3 separate regions of the Homo sapiens genome follow, and regions 1 and 2 are each linked to region 3. The links are contacts of gene promoters, found by promoter capture Hi-C in blood cells and fetal thymus (Javierre and others, 2016). All regions are on one chromosome and are shown on one strand. The core of a region is centred on a gene start or on the middle of the fragment in contact, and the rest is flanking DNA. Distances in the headings are between cores, read along the strand shown.

What was found. Contacts are between HindIII fragments. The CHiCAGO score rates a contact against its expected background, and 5 or more counts as called.
Region 1: a contact is called between a fragment that was not itself captured here and the fragment with the promoter of NGEF in region 3, in 1 of 17 cell types (neutrophils). The highest score is 5.1, in neutrophils.
Region 2: a fragment that was not itself captured here is called in contact with the fragment with the promoter of NGEF in region 3 in 1 of 17 cell types (neutrophils); the score reaches 5.3 in neutrophils.

Annotation. Positions count from the first base shown.
Region 1 is chr2:233,279,129-233,282,007 of GRCh38, forward strand. It overlaps ATG16L1 (autophagy related 16 like 1), which reads left to right. Exons shown (of 18, transcript NM_030803.7): 11 at 1,977-2,047. Among named protein-coding and RNA genes, the nearest start is that of SAG, 27 kb to the right of the region's middle. The HindIII fragment of the contact is 5,263 bases long and covers 1-2,879 here.
Region 2 is chr2:233,420,476-233,423,574 of GRCh38, forward strand. All of the region lies in intron 3 of DGKD (diacylglycerol kinase delta), which reads left to right. Among named protein-coding and RNA genes, the nearest start is that of DGKD, 68 kb to the left of the region's middle. RefSeq lists an enhancer at 1,713-1,862. The HindIII fragment of the contact is 1,540 bases long and covers 741-2,280 here.
Region 3 is chr2:233,011,685-233,014,866 of GRCh38, forward strand. NGEF (neuronal guanine nucleotide exchange factor) reads right to left here and starts at 1,572. Exons shown (of 15, transcript NM_019850.3): 1 at 1,384-1,572. LOC101928881 (a long non-coding RNA gene) reads left to right here and starts at 930. Exons shown (of 3, transcript NR_136325.1): 1 at 930-1,285; 2 at 1,456-1,563. The HindIII fragment of the contact is 3,625 bases long and covers 1,554-3,182 here.

The sequences.
Region 1 (2,879 bases), core at 380-2,879, 270 kb after region 3:
GATCGCATCACTGCACTCCAGCATGGGCAGCAGAGCAAGACCCTGTGTCTTTTAAAAAAGGAAATTTTAGGGAATTTGATTTGCAAAATCAAAGTAAACAGTCTGTTTTGAGTATGCCATTGAGATTTAAATAAAAATAACACTAGAAATATTTTCGTTTTACTCCTTGGTCAGTAAAAACACCTATAAGAAAATTAGAGGTACCAACCTTTAATTCTAGTAACCTTTTTGCGGCTGAAAAGAAACGAACATCAGTTGAAGTTAATACTGACATAATCTGTGCCAGCACATAATTTGTGTTAATAAAATCAAGTTTCTACCTAATCTACAGAAATAGCAGAATGTGTGGCGGCATTTCTTACAGTTTTGTGTAGGGCCTTTCTTCTACAAACAGCTGTTTCAGTCTACAAGATTTTTCGTCTTGGCAAATATTTATTTACTGAATCTTGGAAGAGGCCAAGTTCAAGAGACCTTTTCTGAAATAGTTTGGGGGTCCTGTTTTTTCATCCTTTTAGATTATCAGAAGAATCACACTTTCTACCCAGTGGGAACATCTGTTTTTGCTCATTTTCTCCAAAGCAGAAGTTCCACTGGGAATTATACAAATGCTGTTGACATAGCACCCCCCGCCCCCAACCCCGTATCTTGTAGATAATTAAGAGTTTTAATACGGTCTTTGTTCTTTTGAGATCAATCTCTCATATTGAATAGCATTAATTTTTTGGTCACTTCCTACATTTCGGCACTGTGTTAAGTGCCAAGCAAATAGACCAGTATTTTAAGCATAAGCCAAAGAGATATTTCTTAGAATTTGCAGTAATATTTTTATCTGTGAAGATTTCATCTAAAGGAAAATCTTAGCGAATATTAGCCTTTTTCAACCCTTTTGAAAATCTTAAGAAAGCTAGGATCCAGAAAAAGCCATTAAATATGCTGTATTTTGCAAGTGAGTTCAGAGGAGAGGTTCATCAACCAGGTTAACAGTCTGTGGCCTGAATGTACATGACAGCTTCAAACCAGTATTCGTGTCACCTTGATATCTGGCTCCAATCATTATTTTTACTACTTAGAAGTACTGAATAAGATAAAAATGTGTTGAAATGTTTTCTGTTCTGTGTTCCTCTTTTACAAATATGATTACAATGGTTCCTTAATTTCTAGCTTATCTGTGTGGATCATCCTTAAGTTACCCTTTTAAAAGGAATTTAATCAAATCATTGAGATTTTTGCTCTTCTCAGTTTGGGATTGCCCGTTACTGAAATTTCCGTGTGGGTGGCCAGGCTGTCTGGAAGCAGAGTAGATAAAGTGGACAGTGGCTCTGTTGGTGAGGGAGAGCTGTGTAGAGGGATGGGAGGTGCTGGCACTTAGTTCGCTTGCCAGGATCTTAGATTCATGGAGATAAAGTATGAGGGCAAATTCCAGAAACTCCAAACTAGCTTGACTGGTATTCTATATGAGTAGTCATTTAAATGTAACTAACACAATTTCTTTTCACACCTTAATGAAAATTACCACACCATGGGTCCAGAAATTGACTGCCAGTTTCTACAAAAGTGGTAGTTAAGTTGGCACAAATGCTGATCAACCCAAATATTTATGTATGTAAGTTTTTAAAATGTACTGAGAAATAGTGGAACTGAATAAACCCAGTCTCTAGTTTGATTGACATGGTTTATAAATTCCTACACTTTGTTTTTCTAAAGAGAATGAATAACTACATTTCTTAAAGAACAGAACACACATCCAAGATGCTGGGGTCAGTGTCCACTTAGACTTGCATTCCTCTTAGAAACTAGCAGTATCTTTTATCTCTCATGTTCTCTTTGTCCTGCTATTTTGTTTGATTCTGTAAAGGTACAGGATAGCTATTGTTTTAGCAGTGTAATTGGCTTCCATTGTATTTCAGTGCCCTGTTTTAATGTATTTATTGGCTTTATTTAACTTCCCATCATCCTAATTTTTTCTTTTTATACAGAAAAATGTGAGTTCAAGGGTTCCCTATCTGGCAGTAATGCAGGAATTACAAGCATTGAATTTGATAGTGCTGTAAGTATTGAATAGCTATGATTTTAAAGGTTTTTAGAAATAATTTAAGACATTAGGTTCTTGAAATTATAACATAACTTACCCGATTTCTCTGCCATTCTCTGTATCTTAAGCCAAATCCATGTTAAAGAAAGATGGAAATAGATTATAGGGTTAATTGCTGTATCAACTCTGATAAACCCTTGGGTTCTGCTTCATGCATTAGGCTTGTGATGTTACTCAGTACTTTGTATAATTTCACTTAATAGTTGTATTTTGAGTGTATAGATGCTGTACTCCAGGGGCCAGCGTGGTCTCTACCCTCCGAGATTCGCCATCTAAATGAGAGTGATGGGAAAGCATTAAACTGCAAAGCGTTGTGCTGAGTTATGGCTGAGATGTGTGTGGAGTAGAAAGGAAATACTGATGAGAGAGTAGCTCATTCTGGGGCAAGGGTTAGGGGCCATAGTAAGGCATTTAAAGCAGATCTAAAGATAATCAAAGGTCAGAGGCAAAAAGCCAGGGACGGACACCACAGGCAGAGGGAGCAGAGGAGGTTGGGCTGGGCGAGTGCAGGAGCTTGGGTGGAGGTGATGACTGGGTGAGGCCAAGGTAGCGTCCTCATCTACCAAGAGTCCTTATCTTGATTGTCATCTCTGGGGAGCCTTGTTCACATTCCTGGGTGGGCTGAGTGTCTATGTTCCCAGCATCTTGTGCAAACCTATTCTATGGCACGGTGGTGGTCTATATCTGTTTCTTTTACTAAGCTGAGAGCTGACTACCTGAGGACAAGTGTCTGGGCGTTAATCATCTTTGTACCCCCAGCACCTGGCACAGTGCCTATTAGGTTCTA
Region 2 (3,099 bases), core at 261-2,760, 410 kb after region 3:
CTTCCCTGGGGGCATCCTAACTTTGGTGTTTGTCATTTGTTTTCATGTTTATATACTTTTTTGATAAGTGTGTGTAGGCATAAACAGTATATAGCATTGTTGAACTGGTTCTGAAATGTCGAATAAATGTTATCAGACTGGACAGCCACAGCATTACGCTTCCTGGATTTATCCCTGTGGCTACATCTAGCTTTAGTTAAATGGTTCAAGGTTTAATACAACTGATTCCTGATTCCTGGAGTTAAATCAGAATTTCTGGGGAACGAGGCATGAACCGCAGAGCTCCTGACAGGCGCGGCCTGAGTTGAGGCCCACGATGCTGGTTTTCGTGGCCTCTGTAGTGTTCCAGTACCTAAGACGTCCTGTTGTGGACGTACACTTTCCCAGATTCCCTGTGATCAGTAGTGCTGCTGTGAATATGCTTATCTTCGTCTTCTTGGCACATGGGCAAGAGTTTCTCTAGAATGTGTTTCTAAGGATAGAATTGCCAGGTGTGTGCATCTTCAGCTTGACTGGTGATCGTCAAATTACCTCCAGAACTATCAGCAGCAGTGGTCACGTATGAGTGATCTCATTTCTATAGTGTCTTTAAGTTTTTCTTTTTTAACATACCAAACTGAGGGCAAGATGAAGACCTCATGAGTGAGATAAGACATTGGACATTGCTGAGACTTTAATCGACACCGTGCCCTCAGCATGTCCACACGGACCTGCTGGCCCTGCCGCCACCCCAGCTGTAAAGCTTGCTTCCACCCACAGTGTCCCCTTCCTGGGATGGGAGCAGCACCCAGCCAGCTGCTCGGAGGTCACTGTGGACTCCTCTCTGTCTCACCCTGTCCCGTCTGCTGTCCTCAGAGCACATCCAGAGCCTGCCCACTCTCCTCACCATCATCTCGTGATGGGGTTACTGAGGAGCCTCCCAAAAGGTTTCCTGCCTTCTTTCCTGCATCTTACTGTCAGCTTTCAATAAAGCAACCAGAATGATGCTTTCAAAACTTGAGCTTGCATGGCTTCTTATTTTACGTGGAGTAAAAGCCAAAGTTCTTACACCTGCATGGCCCTCTGTGGTCCTGATGCTTGCAGGTTGGCCCCTGGCCCCCTTCCTGATGCCAGCCCCAGCCACGCACCACGCGCCTGCTTCTGCTCAGCCCTTCCCACCTCCTTCCTTGCTTCCTTCCAGTCTCTGGCTCCTTCCTCGCCTCCTCCCCGTTTTTGCTGTGGAGTCCCCTGGCCCCCAGACCTCTCTTTTCTGGTCTCCCGTTTTTCCATAGGGCTTGTCACCAGCTACTACTCTCCATGCTGTGTAATTCACTTCTTTAATAAGTCTTTAATTTACTGCCTGCATTCAAATGTAACTTCCGCAGGAGCAGGAATCTTTTCTGTTTGCTCAAGTGAAAGACTGCCTGAATTTATTTCTGAGGAAGAAAGAAAGAATTTGGAGCCCAATGATGAAGATAGCACAGGAGAGAGGAGGTGAAGTTGAGGGAGCAGTTTCTGACTTGGGAGGTTGGGGGGATGGGACAATTACTGGTCTCTGGGAGGCAGTGGCAGAAGGACCTTGAGGCCCCCTAAGTGTGTAGTAGGACCCCCGAGGGGCATGGCCAGTGGGCTGTGGGGCTGCAGAGGCAGCTTCTTTTGGGGCCTTGTCTTGGCACCATCTCGGCCACTCCCAGAGCATACATTGGTATTGCCGTAGTGGGTGCTGGGCTGGCCCGCCCCACCCAGGAAGTGCACTACTGTTTGAGGGCAGGAGCCTGCGATTCTGACATCCTCTCTTCATGGCTGAGCTCCTCAGGTTACATAGCTCCACTGATTCCTCAAGCACTGTTGTGTTTAGAAATGAAACCTTCCATTTCCAGGGCCCTGCCTTGTGCAGGCTCAAGTACCCAGGCCACGTGTCAGAGCCCATAGCAAAATGAGCAGCTCAACCGGAGGGCGTGGTCCATGACACTCCTGCGTGTGCTTGGACTCAGGCGCAGGGACAGGCGGGGCAGCTGGCATTTCTACCCACCCCTCCTGACATAGAGGACCTGGTCCTTTTCTTTGAGAATGTGTACCAAAGGTGTGTCGGCTGTGTCCACATAATATTTTCTTGGCGTCAGATGTTTCATGGGTTGCACTAACTACAAATACAGGACTTTAGATAAGATTACACTTTTAACTTGCGCTGCCCACATACGCCCTTGTCCTTAAGAAACACAGCATTGTTCTGGAGTTACTCCTTGGTTTTCCCAGTTTAAACTTAAATATTGTTGATGGTGGTTACTTATTTTTAATTAAAGCTTTTATTTTGAGATTCTTTGTACCCTTTACCCAGTTGCATGCAGTGGTAACCTCTTGCACAACTCCAGTACAATGTCACACCCAGGATACTAACCTCGTTACAGTGGAGATGGGTAGCCTCCAAGCCGCAGAGATTTTCCTTGTGCCCTTTTACAGCCTCACACATGTCCCTCTGTAACCCCTGGCAAACACTCATCTGGTCTCCATTTCTATAATTTGGTCTTTTCAAGATGTGATATAAATGGAATCTTATAGTATGTAACCTTTGGGGTTGGATTTTTCACTCAGCGTAATTCCCTGGAGCCTCATTGAGGTTGATGAGTCTTATCAGTGGTTGTTCCTTTTTATTACTGAGTAGTATTCCACGGGTGTACCACAGTTTGTTAATCATTTACCCCCTGAAGGGCATCCGAATAGTTTCCAGCTTTTGGTGATCATGAATAAAGCTGCTGTAAACATTCCTGGGTAGGTTTCGGTGCAAACATGAATCTCCATTTCTCTGGGATAAATGCTGAAGAGTGTAATTGCTGGGTCATATGCTAGTCACATGCTTGGTTTTTTAAGAAACTGCCAAACCGTTTTGCAGAGTGGCCGTAATGTTTTACATCCCACCCAACAGTAAGATCCACTTTCTCCATATTCTCTCCAGCAGGTGGTGTTGGCACTAGTTTCTGTTGTAGCCATCGTGATAGGTGCGTAGGGCTCTCTGGTTGTGGTTTCAGTGTGTTTCTCTGATGGCTAAGGATGTTGAGTATCTTCTGTGTGCTTATTTGCCGCTTGCATATCCTCTTGTGCTGTCGGGGGTGAGGACTCATT
Region 3 (3,182 bases), core at 322-2,821:
TCAAGCAGCCCTCCTGCCTCTGCCTCCTGAGTGGCTGAGACTACAGGCATGCATCAGCTCTTCTTAAAGCAATTCATCTTCCCCCATGTCTAGCCTCATCTGTGTCCCCAGCCCCACTGGGGCAGAAAGCTGTGGAATGTTACTCACACTGTCATTGGATCAACCCCTGGCTTTCCTGTGGGGATCCCCTCCCTGGGAGGGGTTCCCATGACAATTTGGGCTCCAGAAAGGGATGTGGGAGGAGAGTGCGGTGGAGGGAGGTGGTCTGTGGTCTCCCTTCATGGACCAGAAAGCTTGACCCCCAAGGGGACCCTGGCTTCTACTTCCTCAGAGCTAAGCAGTGCCAAGGGGCAGCCTGAGACATGGGCAAAGGGGAAGCCTAAATGGAAAAAGAGAGAGAGAGAGAGAGAAAGAGAGAAGGGGCAGGGAGGACAAAGACACATGGCAAGTGTCCAAGCTGGAACATTCCCACCAGTGGCCTTATTGCATTAAGGATTTTCCCAAAAAGCAGAAATACACTGATAGTCAATGGAACATAGCAGAGCTGTCACGAGCCCAGGAAACACAAGTCCCACCTCTACACAGCCAGAGACTGTGTGACTGTCCCAAATTTTAAATCAAGATAGACAATAAGAACCTACCACTTTCACATCCAAGAAAACTGTGTCCCTACACATTTCAGTCACACCGTGCTGTGGCTTGAGGCCAGCCAGATGCAAAAATCAGGAAGGTTCTGAGGGGTAGGGCCTTCTGTCTTTCTGAAAGGGGCCCCTGAGCGGAGGGGGCAGTGCTGGGGGAGCTAAAGCGCAGTGGGCTGTCACTTCACGACTATGACTTCTGTTTCCCAAGTGCACTTCCTGACCCTGAGATTTGTGCCATGGCACACAGGAATCAGGGCACTTCCGTTTACATATACGCTCATTATCAGGACTGGCGTCGTGGGTGTGGGGCCTGGGCAGTCACAGGGCCCTGTTCTTAGAAGGTGCCCCGGCTTGCTTTAATGCTGTGTTGTTGTCCTTTTGAAAGCCTTACTATTTTAACAAGGGGCCCTGCATTTTTATATTGCACAGGGCCCTGCAATTATGCAGCCATTCCTGCTTTTGATCTCACTTACCCCACAGCCATAATGGAAGAGCGCCTGGAAGGAGTCCTTATCCTGATTCCCAGATGGTGAAACTGAGTGCCAGGAGGGGCAGTGCTGAAGCCGAGACCAGACAGGATCCCTCGGGTGGAATCCAGGGCTGCTGTTTCTCTTGGGGGCTCCTCCTCAGTGAATGGATGGGTGGTAATCTCCTTTCCTACCTGTCCTAGCGGTAGCCTCTGTTCCTTCTCTTGTTTTATCTCATTTTATTTTTTTAAAAAATACCAAAACCATTCTCTCACCTGCCAGAGAGGAGCTCATAGGAGTTGGGCTTCCTCAGAGAGTGTTCCTCCCTCGTCCCCTGTCCTGTCCAGGCACCTGCGAGCAGGATGGTGTGTCCCCGGCTAAATCCACAGGCGCTCCACTCTGTCCCAGAGAGCCCACAGCCAAAAACTTCGTCCTGTCCTGGAAAAGCTTCACTGGTAAGCATTCCCGACCTTTAGACCTGCCTTGGCCCATAGCTGGCCACGAGCCCATAACGATCACTTCCCGGCTGGGTGTTTACCTTCCTGGGCCCCATGGGTTGAGCCAGGGTGGCAGCCACATACCTGACACAAAAGTGGTGCAGGAGGGAAGGGCTATCTGAGGGGAAGGCTGGGCATGGCTGGAATACCCGCCGCCCGCCCAGTGCAAGATAATGCTGATGGTCACACCAAGAGGGGCCCGTGGCTCAGCTGGCCCACCAACCCCAAGCATTGGCCAAGCCAGCTGCACGGCCCTCAAATCTGAGATTTGGGAGAGGCTTTGGGGTCCTCCAGGGTTCTAGTCACTTCCTGCCATGGCCATCTGGCCTTAACTCAATCACTTCCAGGCATGGAACACTCACTGCTTTGTAAGGCATCTTGCTCCATTATTATTATTATTATTATTATTATTATTATTATTATTATTCCCTCTAATAGCTTCCTTTAATCCAGTGCTTACTACATGACAGGCACTGGGCTAAGTACATTACATAATCTATGTAATCCTTGTGTTGTCACTATGACCAGAGAATCATGCCCATTTTAAAGATGCAGAAACAGAGGCTCAAGAAATTGATCATCTTGCTCAAAGCCCCACAGCTAGTAAGTTGGGGATCCAGGATTCAAACCCAAGCCAACTAGTATCAAAACCACTACCATCATTTGCCAAGTTTAATTGCTACATCATCCATCTTTATATAAAACTCAAATCAGCGTTTGTTTTAGCTATCTGTTCTGGAAACAAATTAACTCAAAGTGTGTGGCTTGAAATAACACTCATTTGTCATCTCAGTTTCTGTGGCTAGAAGTCTGGGCACTGCTTGGCTGGGTTCTCTGCTCAGGGTTTCTCATAAGTTGCCATCCAAGTGTTGGAGGGGCTGAGGTCTCATCTCATGGCTCCACTAGGGGGGATCCACTTCCAAGCTGCTGGTGTTGGCAGGATTCAGTTTCTTAGGGCTGTAGGATGAAGGCCTCAGCCCCTCTCAGCTGTCAGCTGTGGCCACTATCAGTCCTTTGCCATGTGGGCCTCTCCGCCCTGGCAGCTCGTTGCATCAGAGAGGGCTATGGAGAGAGTCTGGGAAGAGGTAGGTCAGTCTTTTGTAATATACTCAAGGATGTGATATTCCATCACTTCTGGCATATTCTACTCGTTAGAAGGAAGTCATCAGGCACAGCCTACACTCAAAGGTAGGGGATTACACAGGGCACAATACCAGGGGTGGGGGTCCCTGAGGGCCATCTTTGAAAGTTCCCACAGCCATCTGATTGCCACAAAACATGGGTTTCAGTTTTGTCCCTGAAAGCCAGATTGAAGTAGTCTCTCATCTATTCTCTCACCCATCCATCCACCCATCCACCCATCCATCCACCCATCCACCCATCCATCCGTCCATCCATCCATCCACCATCCATCCACCCATCCATCCATCATCCACCCATCCACCCATCCATCCACCCATCCATCCATCCATTATCCACCCATCCACCCATCCATCCACCCATCCACACTTCCATCCACCCACCCATCCATCCACCCACCCTTCCATCCATCCATCCACCCACCATCTATCCATCCA